Linked DNA regions of Homo sapiens: regions 1, 2 and 4 are each linked to region 3. The links are contacts of gene promoters, found by promoter capture Hi-C in blood cells and fetal thymus (Javierre and others, 2016). All regions are on one chromosome and are shown on one strand. Each heading gives the region's core, a stretch centred on a gene start or on the middle of the fragment in contact. The rest is flanking DNA. Distances are from core to core; before and after follow the strand shown.

Region 1 (3,013 bases), core at 226-2,725, 420 kb before region 3:
AAAATTAGAAGACCCATACTAGCTGATTTCATGTCTTCTTATAATTGAGACATAGTGGTGGTATTGTAAAGGAAGATGTTATACATCAATGGAACAGAATAGAGTCCAGAAATAGATCCATATGTATATAGTCAGTTGGTTTTTAGAAAAGCTGCTTAGATAATTTAGTGGGGAGAAGACAGTCTTTTTAACAAAAGTTGTGGGAATACCTGGATATCCATATGAGAAAGAAAAGGAACTTTAACCCTTGTCTTACGCTATATGCAAAAACAGACCTAAATGCAAATGACCCAATGACTTTGGGACAACAATTCTAGAAGAAAGTGTAGGAAAAAATCTTTATGACTTTGGGATAGGCAAGGACCTCTTAGGTTGTAAAACAGCACAAATCATAAAATTTAAAAATTGATAAATTGGATTTCATCAAAATTTTAAAACTTCTACTTTTAGAAACATACCAATAAAATGAAAAGGCAAGCCACAGACTTGGAGAAAATACCCACCATTTAAATATCTGACAAAGAATTTGAGTCCAAAATATATAAAAACTCTTACAACTCAATAATAAGAAGGTAACCCAATAAAAAGTGGGCAGGAGATTTGAACAGACACTATACCAAAGAAAATATATGAGTGGACAATAACCATATGAAAAGATGCTCGGCAACATTAATCATCAGAAAATGCAAATTAAACCCACAATGAAATGCTATTGCACACCCGCTAGAATTGCTAAATGTTAGTAGACTGGCAATAACAAATATCAACAAGGATACAGAACTGGAATGCTCATACTAGCTGGTAGGAATGTTTGACAGTACAACCACTTTGGAAAACAGTTTAGAGGTTTCTTGTAAAGTTATAACCCAGTAATCCCACACGTAGATAATTAAAAGAAATAAAAATACATGTCTGTGTAAAAGCTTATATACAATGTTCATAGTAACTTTATGAACAAGGGGAAATAACAAATTTTCATCAACAGGTAAGTGGTAAATCGTGATATATCCATGGAGTACTACTCAGCAATTAATAGGCTATCAAGACACAACAGAAATTAATCTCATAAACATGCTGACCAAAGACGTCAAACACTGTTATATTTTGTGAATTACAAAATAGGCAGAATTTATCTATAGTGACAAAGCAAGATCAGTGGTTGCCTGGAACCAGGGGTGTTAGGAATCAACTACAAGGGCACCAGGGAGCTTCTCGGAGTATTGGAAATGTTCTATATCTTGATTTTGGTGGTTATGATGCAAGGTATATATATTTGTCAAAACTGTAAATGTACAGTTAAATGGATACATTTTATTATATGCTAATTATACCTCATAGTTGACTTTTTTTTTTTTTTTTTTTTTGAGACAGCATCTCACTCTGTTGCCCAGGCTGGAGGGCAGTGGCGCGATCTCAGCTCACTGCAACCTCCACCTCCTGGGTTCAAATGATTCTCCTGCCTCAACCTCCTGAGTAGCTGGGATTACAGGCTTGCGCCACCATGCCCAGCTAATTTTTGTATTTTTGGTAGAGATGGGGTTTCACCATGTTGCCCCAGGCTGGTCTCAAACTCCTGACCTCAGATGATCTACCCACCTCAGCCTTCCAAAGTGCTGGGATTACAGGCGTGAGCCACTGCACCCGGCCTCATTGTTGATTTTAAAAGCAAAAGAATTTGAGAAATATTTATATTTTATAATAAATAATTTATTTTGTTAGGTATAATTACTTTTCCAAATTGGATTATCGTTATAGATCTTTTTTGAAACACTTGTTTCTAAAATTAAAATCTGCCCTGACCAAATTTTCATTCAGATCGTTTCTTTGTAAACATCTTTTCTAAGAACAACTTCAAGTGCCTAACAGAAGAGTTATATTCATCCTTTCTGTTAAAAAATAAGCTGGGATTTAAATATTCAAAAAAAAAGTAACCTTTAGCTTTTTCCTTACAAGGAAGAAACAGTACAGTTAACCTAGGAAATGTATCCCCCACGTGAACATCTTTTAAGACAATTGTTAGCAAAAGGAAAGCTTTGCTGGTAGAATAAAAATGTCTGGCCAGGCACAGTGGCTCACACCTCTAATCCCAGCACTTTGGGAGGCTAAGGCAGGAGGATCGCTTGAGCCCAGACGTTCAAGACCAACTTGGGCAACATATTGCGACCTCATCTCTACAAAAAATTTAAAAAATTAGCTAGGCATGGTGGTGTGTGCTTCTAGTCCCAGCTACTCGGGAGGCTGAGATAGGAGGATCGCTTGATCCCTAGAGGTCAAGGCTGCAGTGAGTCCTGATTATACCACTGTACTCCAGCTGGGTGACAGAGCAAGACTTTGTCTGAAAAGAAAAAAAAAAAATGTCCCTGTAGTGACCAGCTTCATACTGTTTCCTTTATGCAACTACTGATGTGAAACTCCTTTGCAGTATTGACAGGACATGGTCCTTGATCTTCAGGTGCTTTCAGTCTAACAGAACAAAAAGAAAACACAAGAAACAGTGAAGTGAGTTGAAGTGAATTTTGTTCAGAGAAGGGAGAACGCTATAGCAAGACACAGTAGAGCAGTCAGGGAAGAAACCCCTGAGCTTGAAAGATAGAATCAAAATAGCGTTTGAAATAGAGAGATGAGAGGAGTGCTGCATGTGCAGAAGAGAGTAAGCAGATAGAATTTATTAGAAAATGGAGTGCACATTGCAGAGTAGCAAAAAAATTAATGCAGCATAAAGTAAAATAAGCTTGAGCTATAATTATTGACCTAGATAGATCTAAGATGCCTATGATGTTGAGTAAAAGAAGCAAGTGAGAGGTGGAGAAATGCAGTTAGCAATTCATCTATTCATCATCCTGGAACTCTCCCCTGACCTTCAGATCCATATAAACATCTGCCTACTGGGTATCAGCACCTGGATATATCTCATATTCCATCTGGCCCAAAATTAAAGTTAATGCCTTCTCCCTCAAACCTGTTGATCAATCAGCAAATATTTAATAAACACTTACAATGTCCCAGACACTGT
Region 2 (3,061 bases), core at 193-2,692, 400 kb before region 3:
TTTGTGTTTTTAGTAGAGACGGGGTTTCACCATGTTGGCCAGACTAGTCTTGATCTCCTGATCTCAGGTGATCCGCCCACCTCGGCCTCCCAAAGTGCTGGGATTACAGGCGTGAGCCACCACGCCCGGGGCCCGCGTGCACGTTTTTAAAGATGCAGGCTCTATGTGACAAGCTGTGGGAGCAAGAGGAGTTAATAACAAACTACCTGATAAAGGGAAAGCTTCCTAGAAGAGGTGCCGTCTAACCCGGATCTTCAAGGATGCTAGAAGATTGCTAAATGTCAAGAAAGGGATTGGACATTCCAGGAAGCAATATCAGCATGTGCAGAGGCATGGCAATATATTAATAAAACAGCCTGCTCTCTCCAGGAGTCACACTGCATAGAGAAAGGATAGAGATTGAGTTGAAAATGCAGGTTGGAATCAGCCTGTCAAAAACTCAAGTACCAGTGCTAAGAAATATGAGCTTTATCCTACAAATAACATGTGAAATATCTGACACCACTGGTACACTATGACATCCATCTTTTATTATCAACTGTTATTACTCTGATAGCAGTGAAGAATAAGTTGGGGGCTAAGAGTATAAAGTCAGGCAAGAGGGGTTAGGGAGCTGTTACAGGCCAGGCGTGGTGGTATGCACGTGTAATCCCAGCTACTCAGAAGGCTGAAGCAGAAGAATCACTTGAACCCGGGAGGCAGAGGTTGCAGTGAGCCGAGGTCACACCACTGCACTCCAGCCTGGGCAGCAGAGTGAGGTTCCGTCTCAAAAAAAAAAAAAGGAAGCTGTTATAGTAGTCCAGATGAGGCATAAAGAAATGGCATATATATTGTCCCTGGTAGGACTGTTCTTTGGCAGCTCACTCTTGCTGTATCTTAGAAGAAAACTTTTGTCCAGCTCATTCGCAAGAGGTCAGATGCGAGTAAATGAGAATTTGTCAGTGAAATGCAGGAAAGAACCACCTCCACCTCTGCCTGCCTCCCATACTTCAGCTCCCCAGCCTCTAATTTGCAATGCCTGCCCTGCCAAGTACCCAACCCTGTAGTTCAGCACTGCTATTAATAACAGTGTTATGGAAAGCCCTACTCTAATATGAACAGTATGGTCCATTTTAGTGGCCCCAGTACCATGGTCTTTCCCAAATATAAAAACATTATTTTATTGAAGGTCAGTATGTACAGTTTAAGTTGTCTGTCTGCTTACCTTTTTCTCATAAATGAAAGATAAAAATGATTGAACCAAATGTAGAATAGGCTCTTAATCCCTTCTAAATCAGCCCCAGATTTAGCACTGTACTTAGATGTAGTCTGTAAAATCAAAGAAGCAAAGTTGGAGGGTCAGTTAATCCGGCGTTGTGGAAGGGATTCCCACAATGAGTGTAAGTTTGGATTAGAACATAAATTTGGGCCGGGCGCAGTGGCTCATGCCTGTAATCCCAGCACTTTGGGAGGCTGAGGTAGGCAGATCACGAGGTCAGGAGATCGAGACCATCCTGGCAAACACTGTGAAACCCCGTCTCTACTAAAAATACAAAAAAAAATTAGCCGGGCATGGTGGCGGGCGCCTGTAGTCCCAGCTACTCGGGAGGCTAAGGCAGGAGAATGGCATGAACCAGAGGGGCGGAGCTTGCAGTGAGCGGAGATTGTGCCACTGTACTCCAGCCTGGACGACAGAGCGAGACTCAAAAAAAAAAAAAACACATAAATTTATAAGCCAGGTTGTTAGGAGAACCACTTCAGGAGATTTTTTCCCCCCTAGACGGAGTCTTGCTCTGTCGCCCAGGCTGGAGTGCATGGCGCGATCTCCGCTCACTGCAAGCTCCGCCTCCCAGGTTCGCGCCATTCTGCTGCCTCAGCCTCCTGAGTAGCTGGGACTACAGGCACCGCCACCATGCCCGGCTAATTTTTTTGAATTTTTTATTAGAGACGAGGTTTCACCATGTTAGCCAGGATGGTCTCGATCTCCTGACCTCGTGATCCACCCGCCTCGGCCTCCCAAAGTGCTGGGATTAACAGGCGTGAGCCACTGCGCCAAGCCAAGAGATTTTTTTTTAAAACACACATTCCAGGCCATACTTTGATGGTAGGAACTTCTTCCACAACATCCCACGCTGGCAGGATGCCTCTTAAGTACTTCCAATAACTAAAGATGCATTTCTTGGCAAGGCAGCTCATCCCATTATTGTACACCTCTGATTGTTAGAAAATTAAGAGAGAGAGTAGCTAGAAGGAAAGAGATTAGATATCCATGGTGGTTAGACATGTGTGGTGGGATTTGCCACATTTTATAATATGAGCATACATAAATAATGAGTAGGGAGGCAAAGAAACATGTTTCAAGAAATGGAAGACAGTAAGACTTAGAGCTAAATTACAAAGCCTAGAGCTCATCCTTTCAGCAATGGGGAAATAATAATAGGAAAAGGAAAAGAAAATCTGAATTTCCTTCTTCAGGGTCCTAAATGGTCCAGCCTCTGCAGCTTTTCCAGCCTTATCCCTTTTTTCCTCCTCACTTCCTTCCTTCTGACTTGCATCTCTCTGCTTAAACAACACTGGCTGCATTTCTCTTCCTTGAGAAGAGCTTGTTCCTGCCTCAGGGTCCTTTCCCTTGTATGATGGAATCTTTCTTACTCAGATCTGAACTCAAATGCCATCTTCTCAGAGAAGCTTTTTCTAACCATTCAATCTAAATTGGCTACCCAGACACTCTGTATCATAACCCCTCATTTTCTTTTTTTCACACCGTTAGTTATTAACTAATAATTTCATATTTATCGTTTATCCCATTCCCCCGCCAAACGTTCACATCTTTGTTGTTCACCATTGCACCTTAGTACCTAGAACAATGACTGACACATAGTAACCATTCAGTATTTGTCAAATTAAGCCATACTTCAGACCTACTGTTTCTTGAAGTTGAACAAGAGAATTAACTCTGCGTAGGCTGTGTATTTATAAAAACAGACTTTACTTTTCATGCAATTTTTATAATCTCAGATATCTGCCTGTTGGGGAAAACTTCTGCTTTGTATGAATGAACATTTTTAAATGGTTTTGAAAA
Region 3 (2,992 bases), core at 171-2,670:
CGAGACCATCCTGGCCAAAATAGTGGTGCGCACCTGTAATCCCAGCTACTCTGGAGGCTGAGGCAGGAGAATCGCTTGAACTCAGGAGGCGGAGGTTGCAGTGAGCCGAGATTGAGCCACTGCACTCCAGAGCCAGACTCTGTCTCAAAAAAAAAAAAAAGACAAAAACCCCCCACAAATATACACACCCATGCACCACCACCCCTACCCATACACCACACGCACACTTAAATTCAGAGGGCAAATCCCGGTTCCTCCCTTCATAGCTATGTGTCCCCAAGTTACTTAATCTCTTTGTATCTTAATTTCCTTATTTCCGATCTGTAAAAATGAGAATAATGGTATTCACCTCAATGAGTTGTTGTGAAGATTAAATGAGATAAAATGGTAAAGAGCTTACAACAGTGGCAACACATGCAGAGAGACGCACATGTTTTCATACTCATTTCCCAAGCCCTGCCCAGTACTGCCACTGGCACTGGTGGTGAGCCTGGCAGCAGTACAAGGTTGGAGTCCCTTCATCCCTTTGAGCCTTGGTTTTCTCATCTGTGAAATGGGAATAATAATATCTAGCCGGCGGGGCTGTTTGGAGGAACTAAAGAGGCCCAGCATGGAAAGCTCCTAACCTAACTCTGGCCCACAAAAGTCTCCCTACGTTTTAGCTGTCACTGTCCCTGTGAGGAAGAACAGATCCAAGAACAGGTGCAGGGATGGGCTGCACCACAGCAAAATCTGGACAGGCCCGACCCCCATCTCCTCCCAGGCTGGAGCGGGGCCCTGTAAGGACAGAGCCCAAGGCCACTAGGTGTCAGGCCTGTTGGAGCCAAGTCCGGCCAGCAGTCTGGGGTGGGGCTGGGGGCAGGGCTGGTCGGATGGCCGTGGGTGGAAGGAAAAGAGGAAAACCAGCTCAGTGGAAATTGTCCTGCGGTTGGCTCAGGCGCCCACGACACTGTATTTATAGAGAGCTCCTTGCAGCTCTTAATTCCTCGCAGTCGAGTTAACCCTTTCTGGGCTGTGGTGCCAGCATGGTGTGGAGGAAGAACCCAAGACTGGGGTTGGACAGCAGGATTCCAGCCCTGTTCTGCCGCCAGTCGATGACCAGTCAGTCACCTATCCCCTCTCGCAGAAAGGAAGATTCGGCTCTTGGAAGTGTGGGAACGGGGTGGGGGATGGGCAGCGCCCTGCTCCGGGAGCCGAGGGTTTTCCCCGCCAGGGTCAGGCCTGGGGGCGGGGCGGGGCGGGGGCGGGGGCCAGGCCGTGTGCTCTGCCCAGCGGGCTGGCTCAGGCCTCGGTCAGCAGCCGCCACCGCGGGGCCAATCCGGCCTCAGGGACGCACCGGAGCCGCCTTTCCGGGCCTCAGGCGGATTCTCCGGCGCGGCCCGCCCCGCCCCTCGGACTCCCCGGGCCGCCCCCGGCCCCCATTCGGGCCGGGCCTCGCTGCGGCGGCGACTGAGCCAGGCTGGGCCGCGTCCCTGAGTCCCAGAGTCGGCGCGGCGCGGTGAGTGCTGGCGTGGCGCGGGCGGCGCGGGGTGGGGCGGCCTTTGTCTGCTGCGGGCCGGGCCTGGATCCCGCGGAGGTCCGCACGTTCCCGCTCAGGGCTGCAGGAGCTGAGCAGGGCGCCTTCCCTCCGGGCTCCTGCTCCCCTGCCCTCCCCCAGGTCCGGGCGGCCCCCCTCGCACAGGAGTCCCGGGAACCGCGGGCGCCCCTCCTGCCCTGGGCTGTGGGGCCCGCGGAGAGCTGGGGGCTCCCGGATCCTACCCCGCCCCCCTTTCCTCGGGTTGAGAGGGGCCCGGGCGCCGTCGGACCTGCAGACCCCGGAAGCTGCGGACCGGGCCGGGTGGGTGAATGCGCTTTTGCAGGCCCCGGGTCTGGAGCGGGCATGGGGGCAGATCTGTCCCGTGTTGAAGCTTAACGAAGCCACCGGCCGGCGCTGGGAGGTTAGCGGGGTCTCGGGTCCTGCAGAGGAAAACGCCCAGCTCCGGGAGGGGAGCGGCGGGGAGGGAAGGCGAGTGGTTAGGCGTGTCCACTCTGCAGGGCCCAGCAGGGCGAAGGTGTGGGCGACTGGTGCACTTCCACAGGCAGCCGTGGGCAGCATGAGGGGTCAGATTCCGGGAAGGACAGGTAGAGACGGCTGGCAGGGGCCACGGGGTGAATAGGTGTTGGGGGTGGGGAGGGAATTGGGATGGGCAGTTTGGGCTTGGGAAGCCTCAGGGAGGTGGGGGGTGAGGTGGGATGGAGAGGAGATGCGGGCGACGGTGGAGGGAGGTGGGGACCCCGAGTGGGGGCACACTAGAAGGGAGGGGATTGAATTCCAGCGCCCAGGGCCCTCCCTGCGACCGTTTAGCTAGCGAATTGGCAGGTTTGGCAGCCTAAGGCAGGGGATTTATTTCTAAGCCAAACCTGCTCTAATGAGAAAAGCGTGATAGATGACTCAGATATGGGATCTATCACTGAGGGAAAACATTAAGCAAATAGTAAAGCAAAAAAGATTTGTGTGTGTGTGTGTGTGTGTGTGTGTGTGTGTGTGTGTGTGGCGGGTGGGGGGGTGTTAGTTGTCTTAATTTAGAAAAACGATTTACCTTCAAATTGGATGTGGATAATTGTAAATGAGTCTGATCTCTTCATTAAAGCCCGGGGTCCTTTTCTTATAAGCATGTCTTCAGCAGTTAGTTTCTATATTAGAAAGTAATGAAGCTGCTTTGTCTTTAAGAGAGTTCTTTATTTAGTGCGGCCTCCTCTAGTTCCCTCTGGCCTCCCAGAAGTCCCTAGGAAATCTGATGCTGTGCAGCCTTCCTTGTAGTGTGGGGGACTGCAAATAGGTGGGACAGTTTGAGGCTGAGGGGAACTGAAGTCTAAACTTGAAGTCTAAACCTGTCCGATGGGTTGAGCTGATCTGAGTGCAGGGCAGGATGGAGGGCTATGGGGCTGTAGGGTATGAAGTGGCTCATTTCAAGGGAGTATTTTGGGTGAGTACATTTTCCTGATATCTGGA
Region 4 (3,458 bases), core at 487-2,986, 440 kb before region 3:
AGTGTAAAATACAATACAGTTGACTCCCCAGAACTTAACCACTAGTAGCCTACTGTTGACTGGAAGCCTTGCCAATAACATCAACAGTCTGTTAGTACATATTTTTATGTTATATGTATTATATACGGTATTCTTGCAGTAAAGTAAGCTAGAGAAAAAATGTTATTAAAAAAATCATAAGGGACCAGGTGTGGTGGTTCATGCCTATAGTCTCAGCACTTTGGGAGGCTGAGGCGGGTGGATCGCCTGAGGCCAGGAGTTTGAGACCAGCCTGGCCAACATGGCAAAACTTTGTCTCTACTAAAAATACAAAAATTAGCCGGGCGTGGTGGTGTGCACCTGTAGTCCCAGCTACGTACTGGAGGCCAGGGCACAAGAATCCCTTGGACCCAGGAGGTGGAGGCTTCAGTGAGCCAAGATCACACCAGAGCACTCCAGCCTGGGTGACAGAGTGAGACCCTGTCTCAAAACAAACAAACAAAAAAATCTTAAGAGAAACTATTTATTGTACATTAAGTGAAAGTAGATGATCCTAAAGGTCTTCACCTTCAGGTTGAGTAGACTGAAAAGGAGGAAGAAGAAGAAAAGGGGTTGGTCTTATTGTCTCAGGAGTAGCAGAGGCAGAAGAGGTGGAGGAAATGGAAGCAGGGCAGGAAAGGCAGGCGCACTCGGTGTAACTTCTGTTGAAAAATATCCGCTTATACGTGGACCTACACAGTTCAAACCTGTCTTGTTCAAGCATCAGCTGTACTTCCCTTTAAGACAGGGATCATCCATGATCAGACCAAGTGTCAGAAACCTTAAATTGTAAGAAATCAGTTGATCCTTCCTTATAAATCCTGTGATTGAGAGATTTAGCCGAAGAGAAAATAGTATTAGGTATCTCAAGTATCTCTGAAAAATAATTTTTGTTACTACAGTATTCTTTTCCAGGGGACCTAGCTGATTATAGAGAAAAAATCCTCTGTAAATATTGTGTGGGTACTATTGTTGGATTTTTTAATTAAAATAAAGTAACTTAAAAGAACTATAGAAAATTACCAAAAAGCACTTCTCTGCAGTGCAAATGCTCACAATCAGACAAATTGGCATATGGTCATGTAGACCTACACAAATTTTAATCTGCAATTTGAAGGCAAATTATCAGTATTTTAAAGTAAGAATTTTAATTCAATAAATTAGAATAATTTCTTCAATGGAGTAGTTTGAGGCTCTTTAATTACTTTCTCAAGACAGGTATAGCTGTTTCCTCACATGAATGACAGTTCCTAAAAGCCAACTGTTTGTCTAAAACAAATTCCTTCACAATATTTGTTGAAAACTCTTGATTATGCAGTCTGGTTTTCATTCTAGTGAGTACAGTAGACTGAGCATGTTTGTGGACCTGTGTTGGTCACACAGACCCCAAGACAGAACCTGGAAGCCACCTTTAGTAAAGAACCTAGATAACTGGTTTTAAGCTTTCATCTCATGATATTAAATACTAGACCGCTGGATTTGAGTTGTTTGTGATAAAGTTTGTCAAACATTTCATATCATTTCATATCAGCTTCAAAATCAATGAAGTGTTAATTTTAAGAAATTATAAAAATCAGTATTGTAATCAGTTTATTTTATAGACTGGGTTACACTTAGGATTTATTTAAATGTTTTATGTTTTTATTTCCAATTTTAAAAGATGATAACCTCTAGCATTCTTTTTATTGAGAGTCTCTTAGCCAAAATATACACAGCATTCTTTGATATTTTCTGTGAAATATCATTAGGTCATACCAATATCCACCTTCCATCAATTTCCCTAAAACTCAGTGATTTCTAAAGCCTAGAAAGTTGATGACTAGCTGCCCCATTTGAAATGGCATTGAGAAGAGCCCTGTGTCTTCTCTGAAAGGAAGTTGTGATTATGGTCAGCGATATCAGTAACATTTCAGCAAGAACATCACTGATTTGTCAGATACGTATGCCCTTGCTCTTTTGCCAGTCCCCATCTTCTTTGCACTGTCCTACCCCCAAAAGCTTCATTGTTTGAGAGCTAATTTGACTTACACTGATAGATTTTTATGTGGAGTGGAAAATGAAACTGTACATTCTGGAAGTATTCCTAATTAATGCTATCTCTCTCCAAATCCTTTGTCTAAAGGGAACGTGTTGAGAATACCAGTCACCCAGGAGAGATGCAAGTAACCATTCAAAACCTAATGCCAGCGACCGTGTACATCTTTAGAGTTATGGCTCAAAATAAGCATGGCTCAGGAGAGAGTTCAGCTCCACTGCGAGTAGAAACACAACCTGAGGGTAAGTCTTCCACCTGTCTGTCAGCACCCCCTAGAGGTAGACCTCTCTGAAGTTCTACCTTTGTTTAGCCTTGCACACCATAGGGGAGCAGAAGATAACAGTTCCTTACTTTCGGGGTCCTTATCAATTAGGGGAGGCAAAATTAATTTACATCAAAAAACAGCAAGTAGGGCTGGGTGTAGTGGCTCATGCCTGTAATCCAAGCACTTTGGGAGGCCGAGGCAAGCAGATCACCTGAGGTCAGGTTTTTTAGACCAGCCTGGCCAACATGGTGAAACCCCATCTCTACTAAAAATACAAAAATTAGCCGGGTATGGTAGTGGGTGCCTGTAATCCCAGCTACTCGGGAGAATAGCTGAGGCAGGAGAATCACCTGAACCCAAGAGGTGGAGGTTGCAGTGAGCTGAGATTGCACCACTGTACTCCAGTCTGGGTGACAGAGTGAGACTCTGTCTCAAAAAAAAAAAAAAAAAAAAAAAAAAAAACAACAGCAAATAGTATAAGACAATATACTTCTGTTGGTGCTTTTCTACGTGTTCATATTTTACTGACCCTTTAAGACTTAGCTCAGATGCCTTCTAGAATCTTTCCTCTGATTCTAATATTGTTATCTCCACAGTCTAAGATATTTATCACGTTTTTCCTTCAGTTATGATTATGAACTTACCTTGCTGATTTTGTAGCAAAGACAGAGCCTTTGTCATCCTTACATTTCCCACAGTGTCTAATGTAATGCCTTGCACATGAAGAAGGTATTTAATAATTGTTCTTAACTGGATTGTCTGTCTTTAGGCATACCATGCTCTTTAGAATCTCCTTGAGGCTTTATTTTGGACCTGTGGTCTTTCGTGCTAAATAGGGTTACTTCTAATTACATTTCTAAGATTTTCAGTGACGTGAGTGTCAATCAGGTTTATTTATATTATAAATGTGTTGTATATCTTAAGTTTGGATTGTAAACTAACTATAGGACCGAAATTACAAGCAGCCAGATCTTAATAAATGCTTTTCCTACTTGAGGCTTTTGTCTAGACTTTTGCTTTCTTTTAACACAAATTACTGTTTTTCCTCAGTGTATTCTTTTTTTTTTTTTTGAGGCGGAGTCTCGCTCTGTCGCCCAGGCTGGAGTGCAGTGGCACAGTCTCTGCTCACTGCAAGCTCTG

The links. Contacts are between HindIII fragments. The CHiCAGO score rates a contact against its expected background, and 5 or more counts as called.
Region 1: a fragment that was not itself captured here is called in contact with the fragment with the promoter of CD276 in region 3 in 1 of 17 cell types (neutrophils); the score reaches 7.5 in neutrophils.
Region 2: a contact is called between a fragment that was not itself captured here and the fragment with the promoter of CD276 in region 3, in 4 of 17 cell types (monocytes, M2 macrophages, M1 macrophages and 1 more). The highest score is 10.4, in monocytes.
Region 4: a fragment that was not itself captured here is called in contact with the fragment with the promoter of CD276 in region 3 in 1 of 17 cell types (neutrophils); the score reaches 8.1 in neutrophils.

What each region holds. Positions count from the first base shown.
Region 1 is chr15:73,261,848-73,264,860 of GRCh38, forward strand. The region is part of intron 15 of NEO1 (neogenin 1); the gene reads left to right. Among named protein-coding and RNA genes, the nearest start is that of MIR12135, 37 kb to the right of the region's middle. The HindIII fragment of the contact is 1,108 bases long and covers 922-2,029 here.
Region 2 is chr15:73,279,518-73,282,578 of GRCh38, forward strand. The region is part of intron 22 of NEO1 (neogenin 1); the gene reads left to right. Among named protein-coding and RNA genes, the nearest start is that of MIR12135, 19 kb to the right of the region's middle. The HindIII fragment of the contact is 2,446 bases long and covers 220-2,665 here.
Region 3 is chr15:73,682,963-73,685,954 of GRCh38, forward strand. It overlaps CD276 (CD276 molecule), which reads left to right and starts at 1,421. Exons shown (of 10, transcript NM_001024736.2): 1 at 1,421-1,498. RefSeq lists enhancers at 310-818, 1,836-2,342 and silencers at 1,202-1,251, 1,372-1,501, 1,512-1,641, 1,802-1,851. The HindIII fragment of the contact is 3,658 bases long and covers 1-1,905 here.
Region 4 is chr15:73,242,204-73,245,661 of GRCh38, forward strand. It overlaps NEO1 (neogenin 1), which reads left to right. Exons shown (of 29, transcript NM_002499.4): 9 at 2,141-2,295. Among named protein-coding and RNA genes, the nearest start is that of MIR12135, 56 kb to the right of the region's middle. The HindIII fragment of the contact is 556 bases long and covers 1,459-2,014 here.